4 separate regions of the Homo sapiens genome follow, and all the other regions are linked to region 2. Evidence: promoter capture Hi-C in 16 types of primary human blood cells and fetal thymus (Javierre and others, 2016). All regions are on one chromosome and are shown on one strand. Each heading gives the region's core, a stretch centred on a gene start or on the middle of the fragment in contact. The rest is flanking DNA. Distances are from core to core; before and after follow the strand shown. Region 1 has its middle 120 kb from the start of EXOC2. Region 2 holds the start of FOXF2 (forkhead box F2). Region 3 overlaps LOC101927691 (a long non-coding RNA gene). Region 4 has its middle 140 kb from the start of EXOC2.

Region 1 (3,365 bases), core at 597-3,096, 580 kb before region 2:
AACACCACCACCGGCAAGCAAGAAACCCCTGCCTCGTCTTCAACTCTTCCCTCTCTCTTTATACAACTAGCTGATGTCTTTAGCTGTGTCAATTCTGTCTCTTAAATGTATCTTATATCATGTCTTCTTTTTAAAAATCTATACTACCAGCCTAGTTTAATGAATGTCTTAGCCTGATGATAGAAACATAATCTTCAGCCAATTCCTTTCCCTGTTCATGTCCTTCATTGTCATCAGTGCTCTTTCTAAGATGCAGGATGAAATATGATTTTCCTTGCTTGAAACCTTGGAATGGTATCCCATTGCCTGAAGATGGAAGAACACACACCTTACCAGGACTTTCATTGCTCTCTATGAGCAGACCACAACCTCTCATTTCAATTCAACCTCCATTATTTGCCTATCCTACAACCTCCTTGTACTAGAACTAGATACTTGCTTCCCTTCATCCTTCAGGGATACATGTATTTTACAATAAACATTTACTAAGCCCCTAGGCTAGGCGCGGTGGCTCACTCCTGTAATCCCAGCACTCTGGGAGGCCGAGGCGGGCAGATCACCAGGTCAGGAGATCGAGACCATCCTGGCCAACATGGAGAAACCTTGTCTCTACTAAAAATACAAAAATTAGTTGGGCATGGTGGTGTGCACCTGTAGTCCCAGCTACTTGGGAGGCTGAGGCAGGAGAATCGCTTGAACCCAGGAGGCAGAGGTTGCAGTGAGCCGAGGTCACCCCACTGCACTCCAGTCTGGAGACACAGTGAGACTCTGTCCCAAACAAACAAACAAACAAAAACAAACAAAAACAACAAAAACAAAAAACAGAAAAACAAAATGAAACATTTACTAAGCTCCTGTCATTTTCTAGATAATTTGGTAGATACTATCAGTTCGGAGCTTACTCTCTACCAAATATTCTTAATTTTCTCTGAACAGGTATTGATGAAAGAATCATGAAAAAACAGATTAAAACCTACATGTAATATTGAACACAAGCAAGAAGACAGACAATGAGGATAAAGTATGCTAAGTGTTAAGACAAGTTAAGCATAGGATACTGTGGATGATTTCCCACCTGTGTAGGAAACCAGATGCAGACTGAGAATCAGGCAGCTGTTGACAGGTCAATGTAGACTTTCAGGAAGAGATGGTGACTGATGACACTCAAATGCAAGCATGGAGGACCCAGTCCAGGGAGGGATGGCAACTGATGGAGAAACGGCCCAAGAAGGTAAGAAGGGAGTGGGCCGGCACATGGAAGCAGGGGCAAGACTCCCCTGCCAGCGTGGCAGATGTGAAGGAAGAAGGGGAAAGGCTTAAGTACTAGTGAAGTTTAATTAATTGTCTCATATATTGCCAATTCTAGGGGTAGGTAGTTCAAAGGCTGGAATGGGAGCTTGGCAGTGTCACTAGGGAGCCACACTTCCTCTGCCTGTGAGCTTCCATCCTTACTGTGTGGGCTCCTCATCTTCAGCCTCACTGCTTTGTATCCAGTCATCCCCCATTATCCGTGAGGGATACACTCCAAGACCCCCAGTGAATGCCTGAGACCAACAACAGTATCAAACCCTGTGTAGACTATGTTTTTTCCTGTACATACATACCTATGATAAAGTTTAGTTTATAAATTAGGCATGGTAAGAAACGAACAGCAATAGCTAAAGATAAAGTAGAACAATTAGGATGGTACATTGTAATAAAAGTTATGTGAATGTTGTATCTCTCTCTCAGAATTTCTTTCTTTTACTGTACTCAGCCTTCTTTGTTTATCTTGGGTAACTGAAGCAACAAAAAGCAAAACTTTGTATAAGAGTGGACTACCATATTCAACTTCTTTAGTTTATTCTGCAGTTACCAATAACGTCTAAATTTCAGTGGCTTAAAACAACAAAGATTTATTTCTCACTCTCATTATATGTTGTCTGAAGGTTTTCATTCCAGGATGTAAGTTTGAGGAATAGCTTCACTGGAAACATACCATTCTCATGAGAGAAGAAAAGACAGGCAGAGGGGAATCATAGAGCAGTTCTTAGAGTTCACCTCGGATAAGATGTATGCCATGCTCTGTCGCCTAAAGCAAGTCCTGGGCCGTGCCTAAGCATCAAAGGCCACAGGGACATCCTTCTCTCACAGGAAGGCATCACAAGTTACATGACAGTCACTAAGGATCTATTATCCTCTAATAGGAGGGCCACAAATAATTGGGTGCAAAGTATAACTGTCACATCTTTCGAGATTGCAGAATTACTGCACACAGTTACCTTTCACAAATGAGATCAGAGTCAGAATAAGGAGCAACTTTTCTCCCCATCCTCTTTATGTCAAGGGGCAATATGTATTTGCAATGAGTGAATGAATGTCACCATAGGTTGATGTAATTCCCATCAGCAAATCAACAGATGTTTCTCAAAAAATGCGTCAGGAAATACAATATGATTTTGATGCATCAAATTTCTAAGAAAATACAAAAGATAAGGAAATATAAAATTTCACCATCGTAATAGTAGTTATTGCCTAAATTTATTTAGAATTTTTATGTGCCAATTTCCAAAGCGGAGAAATCATTGCATTCTCCTAGGGCCTATTCAACTTTCAGCATGCCATTCTTCCCTATAGTCAGCCATTGTTGAGTACTCTGGAAAAACGAAATTCATTTTCATTTCATTTTCATTTTCAGCCTGAGGTAACTCTTTCTAAAATGTTGGGCATTGACTAACTTTCAAACTGGTTGTGTTGGTCCATGCTGGAGAATATAAAATCACCCAACATTCATCTTTATTGTGCATACATTTGCTTATTGATGGTTAATAAAGAAATCTACAGAATGGGTATAGCATAAATTGGTAGAGACTTTCTCTGGCTACCAGAAAGTTCAACAACGGCCTCTATGACTTTAACATTTTAGAGTAATGGCAGGCTAATTTGTGAATCTTACTCTGCAATATGAAGGTATCAGGTGATGTTGTGTTACTTCCTGTAAATATTCTGATGTTACACAGCTTCCCAAGTCAAATCACACTCTCCACTCCATGAAGGCCTGAATCCTTGAAATGGAGAAACTTCATGATGACTGTAAGCCATTCCACATGGGAATACTTTGTAGATATATCATTGGTATTTTGGAAAGCAGTCGTCATGTGATTTTGATTACAGCATATGCAGTATATCTGAGGATTGTTCACATAAGCATTAAATATAAAACTGTCTTGGAGTGTGTCATGGATTTTGAATCTGAAAAAGTGTGACTGTGTATACCACACATGCTGGGCTATTGGACAGCACTTGCCAAATGCCTTTCATTCCACCTTCACCTTTAACTGAGGAAGGCAGCACTTGAATATACTATCTGGTTGGTGTGAGAGCCT
Region 2 (3,493 bases), core at 885-3,384:
AAATAATTATATTTTAGGCACTTAGAGCATTGGTTTAGTGAACACATTATATTTACTTTCATATTTAGTTATGTATTTTTAAGTTATTCCACACAAAATGACAAATGAGGGCAAGAGAAAAAAATACCATGAAATATATGGGGACGCACCCCCCAAAAACGCTCAGCAGTCAGTCAGAAATTCTTAGAAAGTGGAAACAACTGCGAAGCCCTACCCCAACCCAATCAAAACATCCCACCCGGAAAAGAGCGACTTGTTTCTTTTTTCTATTGGAAATGAGTGGTAAACTGAGTTCGGTTTGGCGGTGTTTTCTTAGCTGACTCTCGGCTACAATCAAGCCATTTTCGGACACATTCCCATGTAGGTACCAGGGGTGCTCTGGAGGAAGCTGTCGACGCCTGTTCAGCTAATTTAGGTTTTCTTTGTCTAATTACTGTGGAGCTTAGGGAGAAGGAGCCGGCTCAGGGCAGTAAACTGACACTCGGTCTCTGTGTGTGGTATCCAGGCAGGGTTTGATGGAAAAAGCCTGCTTCCACTCAACCTCAGGTCACTGTCTGGGGCCAGCCCCGGCCCACCCCCCTCCCACATACCCCTCCCCTCCCCACCCGCCCTCTCTGCATCTACAGCCCCACCAGCACACTCAGCCAGGAGCAGTCCCCCGGCACTCCAGGGGCACACAGGGCTCCTGCCGCCCCAGGGGGCCTGCCTAGGCTGTGCGGCTGTGAAGGCTCTTTGCCTGGTGTCTTCCTCCTGATTACTGCACAACCTCCCTTTCTCCTGCCTCCTGCAACTCCCCAGGCTCCCCAGCAGGCACACCCGTGCACCTCGGTCCTTTCAGCCTAGACGCAGCGGGGTGCCCAGCTCTACCTCCTGTTTGGTCCGCTGGTCTGCAGCACCTTCTTTCTGGGCCTCCCCCTTCAGCCCTTGGGAGGCCCCGCCAGCTCCGGCCTCCTGCTCTCCTCCTCCCTCTCCCAGCTCCTATCCCTGGTCGGACTACATTTCCCTGCACGTGTAATCCAATAACTAACTGTCGGGTCTCATTGGAAGTGATTGCTCCCGAGGGCACATCTCTCTCAGAGCCTGACTCTTACTTAGGGAGGAATTAGCCACAACTGGGGAGAAGTGTTCTCGGACAGGAGTTAGCTGAGACCTGGCACAGTTTTGGGTGGGCAATGTTAAGACGGAGGATGTAAACCTAGTGACAGCTGCACACCCCTTCAGGACTGACTATAAATATAGCCATCTCGCTTATCTCAGGGTCTTTCTTTTTCTTTCTCTTTCTTTCTTTTCTTCCTTCCTTCCTTTTTCTTTTGCACTTTTTTCTTACAGAACACTAACTGGGGTGCGGGGGTGGGGGGAAGAAGTGGAAGCAAATGCAACCCTAAGTCCCATGAGATCCAGGTTTCCAGAGTCTTTGAAACTTGGCCTAGGTTTCTCAGTGTAAATCCCTCTGCTCAAAGTTCCGAAAACGTCCACGATCGCCAGCGGCCCGCAACCCTGCGGCGGCCCCCAGTCGCCCTAACAATTGTCGGGGAGCCTGCAGGCCCTGCCAGAAAGAGAGAGGATTGGCACGTTACCTTTGGGCGTCTGGCACCCCGGCGTGTGGCTGAGGGCGGCAAAGTCTAAACGAAGTTGACAGATGGAGTCAGTATCGGCCCTGGGGAGGGCGGCCAGGGAGGCTCCGAGCAGCCGCACCCGCAGCAGCACCACTCGGCCCGGCGGGCCAGGAGGAGGAAGGGGGCGCGGAGGGGCGGGGCTGGGTCCTGGGATGGGACGCGGGGCTTGCTGCGGGGGGCAAACAGAAAGAATATTTCATGAAGTCAGAGGTGGTCGAGTTTTGCGAGGGGTGGGGGTCGTCCCCCTGGCAGAACCGGAGTGAGTCTGTGATCCCTCAATTGGAAAGAGGGTGAGTGAGGGAAAGGGGAGGAGGCCGCGAGAGGAATGAAGAGCGAGGAGACCCTGGAGAGCGGGGAGCGAGATAAGAGAGGGAGGCGGCCGCCAGGTCGGGAGGGGGAGGAGTGAGCGCGGCGGCGCGGAGCGAGGAGGGGGCAGGGCGGGGTGGGGGGGGAGGGAGGGAGGGAGGGAGCGAGGAGGGCGGCCGGGGAGGGCGAGGGAGGGAGGAAGTCCGAGAGACAGAGCGAGGAGCGCTCCTGAAGGGAGACGTCGGGCTCGTCCCCGGGGTCCAGGCCGCGGTCCCACTCGCGGGCGCAGTCGCCCGGCGCCGGCCGCTCGGCCCCGCGGCCTGGGAGGCCGTTGCGCAAGGCAGGGCCCGCGGCTCGGGGAGGGATGCGCCGGGCGTTGCCTCCCGCCCGCCGCCGCCGCCGCCGCCAGAAGCCCCAGAGGAGCTGAGGGAGGCGACGCCGAAGCGCTGGCCCGGAGTGGCCACGGCTGCAGCCCGGGCGGCGGGCTAGGGCGCTCGCAGGGCTTCTGGGCCGACCCCGCTCCGGCGCCTCCGCTTCCCGCCCGGGGCCCGCCCTCGCGGCCCGGCCTCGCTCCCGGGTCCCAGATGACCACCGAGGGCGGGCCGCCGCCGGCCCCGCTCCGCCGCGCGTGCAGCCCGGTCCCCGGCGCGCTCCAGGCCGCCCTGATGAGCCCGCCGCCCGCCGCCGCCGCCGCCGCCGCCGCCGCCCCGGAGACCACCTCCTCCTCCTCGTCGTCGTCCTCCGCCTCCTGCGCCTCGTCCTCGTCCTCCTCCAATTCGGCCAGCGCCCCCTCGGCTGCCTGCAAGAGCGCGGGCGGCGGCGGCGCGGGCGCCGGGAGCGGGGGCGCCAAGAAGGCGAGCTCGGGGCTGCGGCGGCCCGAGAAGCCGCCCTACTCGTACATCGCGCTCATCGTCATGGCCATCCAGAGCTCGCCCAGCAAGCGCCTGACGCTCAGCGAGATCTACCAGTTCCTGCAGGCGCGCTTCCCCTTCTTCCGCGGCGCCTACCAGGGCTGGAAGAACTCGGTGCGCCACAATCTCTCGCTCAACGAGTGCTTCATCAAGCTGCCTAAGGGCCTCGGGCGGCCCGGCAAGGGCCACTACTGGACCATCGACCCGGCCAGCGAGTTCATGTTCGAGGAGGGCTCGTTCCGCCGCCGGCCGCGCGGCTTCAGGCGGAAGTGCCAGGCGCTCAAGCCCATGTACCACCGCGTGGTGAGCGGCTTGGGCTTCGGGGCGTCGCTGCTGCCCCAGGGCTTCGACTTCCAGGCGCCCCCGTCGGCGCCGCTCGGCTGCCACAGCCAGGGCGGCTACGGCGGCCTCGACATGATGCCCGCGGGCTACGACGCCGGCGCGGGCGCCCCCAGCCACGCGCACCCTCACCACCACCACCACCACCACGTCCCGCACATGTCGCCCAACCCGGGTTCCACCTACATGGCCAGCTGCCCGGTGCCCGCGGGACCCGGGGGCGTCGGTGCGGCCGGGGGCGGCGGCGGCGGCGACTACGGGCCGGACAGCAGCAGCAGCCCGGTACCCTCGTCCCCGGCCATGGCGAGCGCCATCGAATGC
Region 3 (3,393 bases), core at 41-2,540, 510 kb before region 2:
GGTACTTTGTCATGGCAGCTCTAGCAAACTAATACTCCTCTATTTTTACCAACTTCTGTGGAGAGAATTTTTTCCCTTTGGAAATGGAACATGGAACATTAAATGAAATGTTGATTGGCTTGTATGGATTTCATCATTATTGACTGCTTCAAGCAAAGGTATTTATCTTTCTAGCTGATGTTCATAAAGCATTTATAAAGTGCTTTTATTTTATCTTCACAGTTGATCATGAAAACAAGCAAGGCAGGTGGCTGTTACCATTAACTACAGTTCACATGGGAGGAAGCTGAGCAACTTCCCTAAGAAATTCAGCCAGGAAGTAGCAGAGAAAGGGGATTGAACCCAGGTCTTTGGCCTTGAGCCCCTTTTTCCCTCTGGTCAAAACTGCATTCCTGGAACTTATGGCTGGTTATGTTTCTGGGAAAGGCACTACAAGTTGAAATGATGTAAGTCTAATCTAATTTATTAACAGAAAAGTTTTATAATGGAGGTTATAGTATGGACTAAGTGCTTGATTCCCAAATTGTTATACAAAGAACAAAAATCCCATATGTGATCAAGCTCAGGCTATGTACCTATACAGTACACAGTGAGAACTGGCAATATAATGCCTGCTCTTATAAAATTTAATTTCATTTTTAATATAGTTCCCAGGAGAGGGTTTGTGCAGAGTAGAACGAAGGGCTAGAGGTTTTGTGGAAACAGCTGGAGATTTCCTGATTTCCAGAGGTTTTGCCTGAGGCTGAGGCTGCAGTGACCCGTGGGACAGATGCTGTGGGGGGATGGGGGAGGTCCCCTGAGGCCTGGCGCTGGGCCGTTGCATCTTTTCACCACTAGGACCCATCAGGAGGCTGTTGGAACATTGTGGGTACCCCAGGAGCATGGGAGCCTCTCTGGTTGAACCTTCGTTTGTGGAGGGAAGTATTACCCATCCTTTGCTTTGCTGCCTGAGGACCAGCGTGAGACTCAAGCTGCTTTGGTATGATAGAAAGCTGCTTTGCTCTTCTAGAAAACCAGGGCCCTACCACTTAGCAGCACACAAGAGTGGAACCCAGTGCCCAGGAACTGGCTTGTGTGTGCACTCAGGTCCCTCTGAGTGAAGATGTAACATCTAGCTCCAACCCAAAGCATATCTAAAACACCCGCCTATCTCTAAAACACCAAAGCGTCTCTAAAACACCTGCCCTTGCTTTGTGGAGAGGGTAGGAAAACAGGCGAAATCAGCGAATGTCTTTCCCGTGGCTCTAATGGCCAAAGCCCCACGGACAGCTGCCCTGTTTCCCGGTTCTCTAACCATGGCCAGCAGCAGCCTGTTTTCCCTTTCACATCATCCTGGTCACAGTGGACGTGAAATTTAGGGCATCTGTGTGGGGAGTCCTTGGCCATCTGTGTCTAGTACTAGTGAAACAGGAAGAAGTGCTTTTTCTTTTTCTTTTTTTTTAGAAAGTCCCTGTCCTGAGCCTGCAGCTGGAAGGAAGAGTGGCCTGGCGCTGTTATTTTTAGAAGATGGAGGGCTGGGTGAAGATTGCGGCCCAGGTCGGGGTCTGCTTCCCTTTATGGGGGTGATTTTTCCATGGAGATCCAGTGTTTCCTCTGGGCTCACTCATGAGGAAGATAACCCACTGCACTCTAGAAAAGGTGATCTGGCGGACGGTGGCTTGCTACGTTGCCTTTTCTGGGTCCTGATGACTCATCTTACAACAGCCCTGCTAGAAGAGAGATGCAAGGCTTTGAGACAAGAGTTCACCTGGCCACCGTCTTTACAATCCCTATACTCTATTTTAAATATAAACAGAACCAAAACACAGGCCAACAAACGAAAAACTCCAAAAAGAACTTTGTCATTTTTCTAATTTTCCCCTTCATCTCCTCTTTTATAGAGTGCACTTGTCTGCCTATTTTCCTATCTCATGTATCTATCAATCCATCTCCTATCGTCTCTCTATCATCTACCCATCCATGCAGCTATCTAAACTTGCAATCTAAACTTGATAGGAAATCAGGGAAGCACAAATGTCTCTCACCCCCACATTGTCAGTGGGAAAACTACTCTCTTGTTAGCTGTGAAAATATCACTCCATTGACCTTTTGACAGATCTCTGGGCCTGAACCTAATGACCCAGTTATGTCCTATTTTCTGTAGCCCTGATGGGAAAAGGAGGTGGGTTATGTAAAGAGAGAAAAAGAGGATAGATCCATGAGATTGTTCAGTTCCACTTCAGCGTCTATGTGGAGATGAGACCAAACCATTCGTGACAGAATGGAATCAATTGTTTTCTTCTCCAGATTTCCCAGAAAAGTGATCTCCTCCCATAGTGGTCGAGCTGTTTGTTTTCTGGGACTGAGATTTAGCAGGGTTTTGTTTGTTTGCTGGGTGAGGGCAACACGAGGGGATGAGGTACCATACCAAACTGAGCTTCTGATGTAATGTTAGCAAGCTGGATTGCATTCCCATTTTACACTCTTCCACTGGTCTAGAGAAGACGCTTTAGGAAATGAACACGTAGCTAGCATGAGAGTTTAATAAAAGGCTGATGCTTCATCTCTTGGCTTAATCATTTGATTGCCAAGGAGGCTGTCTTTCCCTATACCTTATTCTCAGCTGATAGCCTGGTGCCCTTGACTGTCCAAAACTGTTACAGGCCCATAGTCCAAGACAAGATTCTCATGAGAAAAAGTGCAGGAGAGACAGGAAATGGGACCCCAGGAGTCTGTTCTCATGACATGAATTCAGTGGAAACAATGGGATGGGTCCGCTCTTTTCCAGTTTTTGGTTGACTTTCTTCTTTGATGATCTTTCTTTCTCCTGACCCTTCCGCCCACCCTGACCCTCTCCCAGGGATGGGAAGCAGGATATTTTCATAAAGCCTTTGTTCCTGGGAGGAGCTCATGCTCTGTCTCGGGTCAAACTCTCCCTTCCCATTCCAACTACTCAGGTGCCCATGGACTTCCTGCAGGAACATCTCCAGGAGTCCAGGCTTCCCTGCCCATATTTTATCTGGATGGGAGTAAGACACACCCGTCTAATTCACGTAAAATCTAAATTGCTTTTTAAAATGGCACAAAATAAAATATTAAACACCAATTGAGATATTCATTGTCCTTTTGATGTTAGCGAGGACCTCACCCAAACTATTCAAAGAAGGTAAACTTTGCTTCCGAAGCAGAAGGTAGGAGCTGCACTGTGAGCTGTCTGTGATCCCGAAGAGCTTGCAGGAGGCGGTTGCCACCAGGGCATTTATGGTGTGGACGGGAGCAGGGAATTCAAGGATGTGATTATTATTAACTTGTATAATGTGTGGTTCCTGTAGCTGATAGAGGATGCTTTGGTGAGTCCTATGCTGCTTTTCAGCCCCCCAGCATCACCTGAAGTTCTGCAGAGCAGACGGGGCT
Region 4 (3,299 bases), core at 196-2,695, 560 kb before region 2:
CTCTTCTTCAAGCTGTTCTAATCTTTGAGAAAATAAACCGACAAGCACAATGGCACTGGGAGTCTGTGGCAAGTGAGGCTGTGGTATGAAGGACAGGCAAGTCTCAATAGGAGACTGGCAGAGCAGATGCCTGAGGTTTTAGAGGAAGGCTATGCCCTTTTGTGGTTACAACAATTCTTTTCCACTTGCAGGGCAGCTCCTGACTTGCTACTTGTCCCTTGCAGAGATGGAATGTCTAACCGTGGGATACCAAGTGACAACATGGTAGATGCCCATTGTGAACTGGATATTACACAATGAATTGAATTATAAAGTTGTGCCACATTGCATTCATTATTAAAGAAAACAGTATGTGTGGGATGGAGCTAAGCAGGTGCCAGAGGGCACAGGTAAGTGGCATGCATGCACAGGGATTCAGATACCACGTTACCTTTTCCTATTGCCTCATAACCTCTCCTTCAAGCTGAATCTATGGCCTCATTGGGAGTTTCCTGTATAAAATGAACAGAATAGGGAAAACAGTGGGCCTAGTTAATGGATGTATCTTGTGAAAAAGTAAGGACCTTGGTATGAAATGGGGTCTTTGATGAAACAGACAAGCCATCTAAATAGTATGTATTTACATATGGGTAGGCAGGGTTAAGGGAAATAAGGAATAGTTAGCACCCCAGGGCTAACAACACTGAGAAACGGATAACATGCTAGGCCTGAAACCGCAAGCAAAGGTGATGACTTTGAGAACCTGAGGAGGCCTGCATTAGACAGAGAAGGCTGCCTCCCTCCAAAAGATCTGTGGATTTGGGGAAAGTATACCATCATTGCCAAGTTGTAATTTTGGAGAAAGAAAGTTCAAAGGATGAATACACTGACCTCTCTCACCCCTCAAGCTCAAGTTTTCTCCTGATGCCTTTAAAAGGGATTCAAGGGATTTGGAGCTGACCGAAGAAGAAGACTTGACCACGAGAAGCAGTAACACCCAGCAAGCTTCACTGGGCAGCGCTTGGATAGGATCACATAAAGGATCCCTCACAGCAGGAGACTAGCCAGTGGCTTATGGGAGGGACACACCCAGAAGGGGAGGAGAGCAAGGGAACTCCTGGGGAGAGGAGGATTAGAGGAGGAGCTTACGTGTCCAGGTGATGCCACTCAGAAGCATGATAGTGGGGGCTCAAGTCGGAGAGCTCTGAAGGGCCGAAGTGGCTTGGGGAGCTTGCAACCATGAGGCTTTATCTTATAATGGCCAACAGATGCAGGATGAGGTGTCCTGGAGTATGCAGAGCACATGGGCTCTAACTAGCCCCAGATCTGCTTAGTTGGGCTATTTTTAAAATAATTGGATGTCCAACAACTTGAATTTGACACCTGTGGGCTTTTGAGGTAATAGATCTCAGCCTGCAGTGAAGAAATAAACAACCCAGGAGTCTATTTGCAGAGGCCATAATTGGCTCATTTCAATAACTGCCACCAGCTGGCCAAATCCAACTGGAAGCCAGAGAGCAAGGGAGTCTGTCTGATGCACTTGATAAAGGTCTGGCTCCTGGAACATGGAGTAAGGTGGGCATGGACCTGGACAGGCAAAGGGGAATGCACAGCAGAGGTCTTCCTGGTGTGATACCAGCAAGAAGTAGTGCCAACAGCTACTGTATCCTGATTCTACCCATCAACACAAAAATAAACTGTGAATTTGATAGAGCGGGATGAATTTGGGGTGATACGTCTGGTTTTCCACTGACTCAAGTTTCAAATTTATGCTGATTCATGTGTAGTGGATAACAGGCTGGTCAAGAACTGGAAAAGAACAGGACTGTAATAGTAGGGCAAGTAGGTCTGGGAGGAGGTGTGGGGCACACTTCTCAGATATCGGTGTCCTCACTGGCTTCTGTCTGTGGCTTCCTCACTTTAGCATGAAGCTTCTCCCTCAACTACTATAAGCAGGGGAGGAGAATGGTGGAAAGTTTCATGCTAGAATTCAATGCACACGTCACTGCCACTCACAACTTCTTGGCCTGAACTGGTTACACATTCCTGCCTGTGGGTGAGAAAGTATAATCAGAGACACTGGATACTGGTGACTCCAAGCAGCCTGTAGTGCATGCTCATATATACCATTTTATTCAGTACCATGATGATAATTTCTCAAAATATTATCTCAAAGTATTTCTCAAAATATTAATTTCTCAAAATATTAAAAGTAGTATTTAAGAATATAAGTTCTATAAGGCTGAAGGCATCACACTACCTGACTTCAAACTATACTACAAGGCTACAGTAACCAAAACAGCATGGTACTGGTACAAGAACAGACACATAGACCAGTGGAACAGAAAAGAGATTTCAGAAATAAGATGCACATATACAACCATCTGATATTTAACAAACCTGACAAAAACAAGCAATGGGGAAAGGGCTCCCTATTTAATAAATGGTGCTGGGAAGACTGGCTAGTCATATGCAGAAAATTGAAACTGCACCACTTTCTTACACCTTATACAAAAATTAATTAATGTCAAAAGCAATTGCAACAAAAGCAAAAATCGACAAATGGGATCTAATTAAACTAAAGAGCCTCTGCACAGCAAAAGAAACTATCATAACCTACAGAATGAGAGAATGTTTTTGCAATCTATCCAACAAAGTTCTAATATCCAGAATCTACTAGGAACTTAAACAAATTTACAAGAAAAACACAAACAATCCCATTAAAAAGTGGGGAAAAGACATGAACAGGCACTTCTCAAAAGAAGACATTTATGCAGCCAACAAACATATGAAAAAAAGCTCAACGTCACTGATCATTAGAGAAATGCAAGTCAAAACCACAACAAGATACTATCTTATACCAGTCAGAATGGTGAGTATTAAAAAGTCCAGAAACAACAGATGCTGGCAAAGCTGTGGAGAAATAGGAACACTTTTACATTGTTAGTGGGAGTGTAAATTAGTTCAGCCATTGTGGAAGGCAGTGTTGCAATTTCTCAAAGACCTAGAACCAGAAATCCCATTTGGCCCAGCAATCCCATTACTGGGTATATACCCAAAGGAATATAAATCATTCTATTATGAAGATACATGCACACGTATATTCACTACAGCACTATTCACAAAAGACATGGAATCAACCCAAATGTCCATCAGTGATAGATTGGGTAAAGAAAATGTGGTACATATACATCATGGAATACTATGCAGCCATAAAAAGGAAGGAGATCATGTCCTTTGCAGGGACATGGATGGAGCTAGAAGGCTTTATCCTCAGCAAACTAACACAGGAACAGAAAACCAAACACTGCATGTTCTCA

What was found. The method cuts DNA at HindIII sites, captures the fragments that hold promoters and counts their contacts. A CHiCAGO score of 5 or more calls a contact.
Region 1: a fragment that was not itself captured here is called in contact with the fragment with the promoter of FOXF2 in region 2 in 9 of 17 cell types (M2 macrophages, naive B cells, M0 macrophages and 6 more); the score reaches 13.2 in M2 macrophages.
Region 3: a fragment that was not itself captured here is called in contact with the fragment with the promoter of FOXF2 in region 2 in 1 of 17 cell types (M1 macrophages); the score reaches 5.7 in M1 macrophages.
Region 4: a fragment that was not itself captured here is called in contact with the fragment with the promoter of FOXF2 in region 2 in 3 of 17 cell types (M2 macrophages, M1 macrophages and M0 macrophages); the score reaches 6.6 in M2 macrophages.

Annotation. Positions count from the first base shown.
Region 1 is chr6:808,260-811,624 of GRCh38, forward strand. No RefSeq gene overlaps it. Among named protein-coding and RNA genes, the nearest start is that of EXOC2, 120 kb to the left of the region's middle. The HindIII fragment of the contact is 5,397 bases long and covers 1-3,365 here.
Region 2 is chr6:1,387,442-1,390,934 of GRCh38, forward strand. FOXF2 (forkhead box F2) reads left to right here and starts at 2,135. Exons shown (of 2, transcript NM_001452.2): 1 at 2,135-3,493. The coding sequence starts at 2,507. FOXF2-DT (FOXF2 divergent transcript) reads right to left here and starts at 2,020. Exons shown (of 3, transcript NR_187218.1): 1 at 1,578-2,020. MIR6720 (microRNA 6720) reads right to left here and starts at 2,970; the gene lies at 2,873-2,970. RefSeq lists an enhancer at 3,317-3,493. The HindIII fragment of the contact is 4,023 bases long and covers 1-3,493 here.
Region 3 is chr6:873,529-876,921 of GRCh38, forward strand. LOC101927691 (a long non-coding RNA gene) reads left to right here. Exons shown (of 3, transcript NR_110853.1): 2 at 223-446; 3 at 1,444-3,085. Among named protein-coding and RNA genes, the nearest start is that of EXOC2, 180 kb to the left of the region's middle. The HindIII fragment of the contact is 5,041 bases long and covers 1-3,393 here.
Region 4 is chr6:829,796-833,094 of GRCh38, forward strand. No RefSeq gene overlaps it. Among named protein-coding and RNA genes, the nearest start is that of EXOC2, 140 kb to the left of the region's middle. RefSeq lists enhancers at 1-85, 86-631 and a silencer at 1-108. The HindIII fragment of the contact is 926 bases long and covers 983-1,908 here.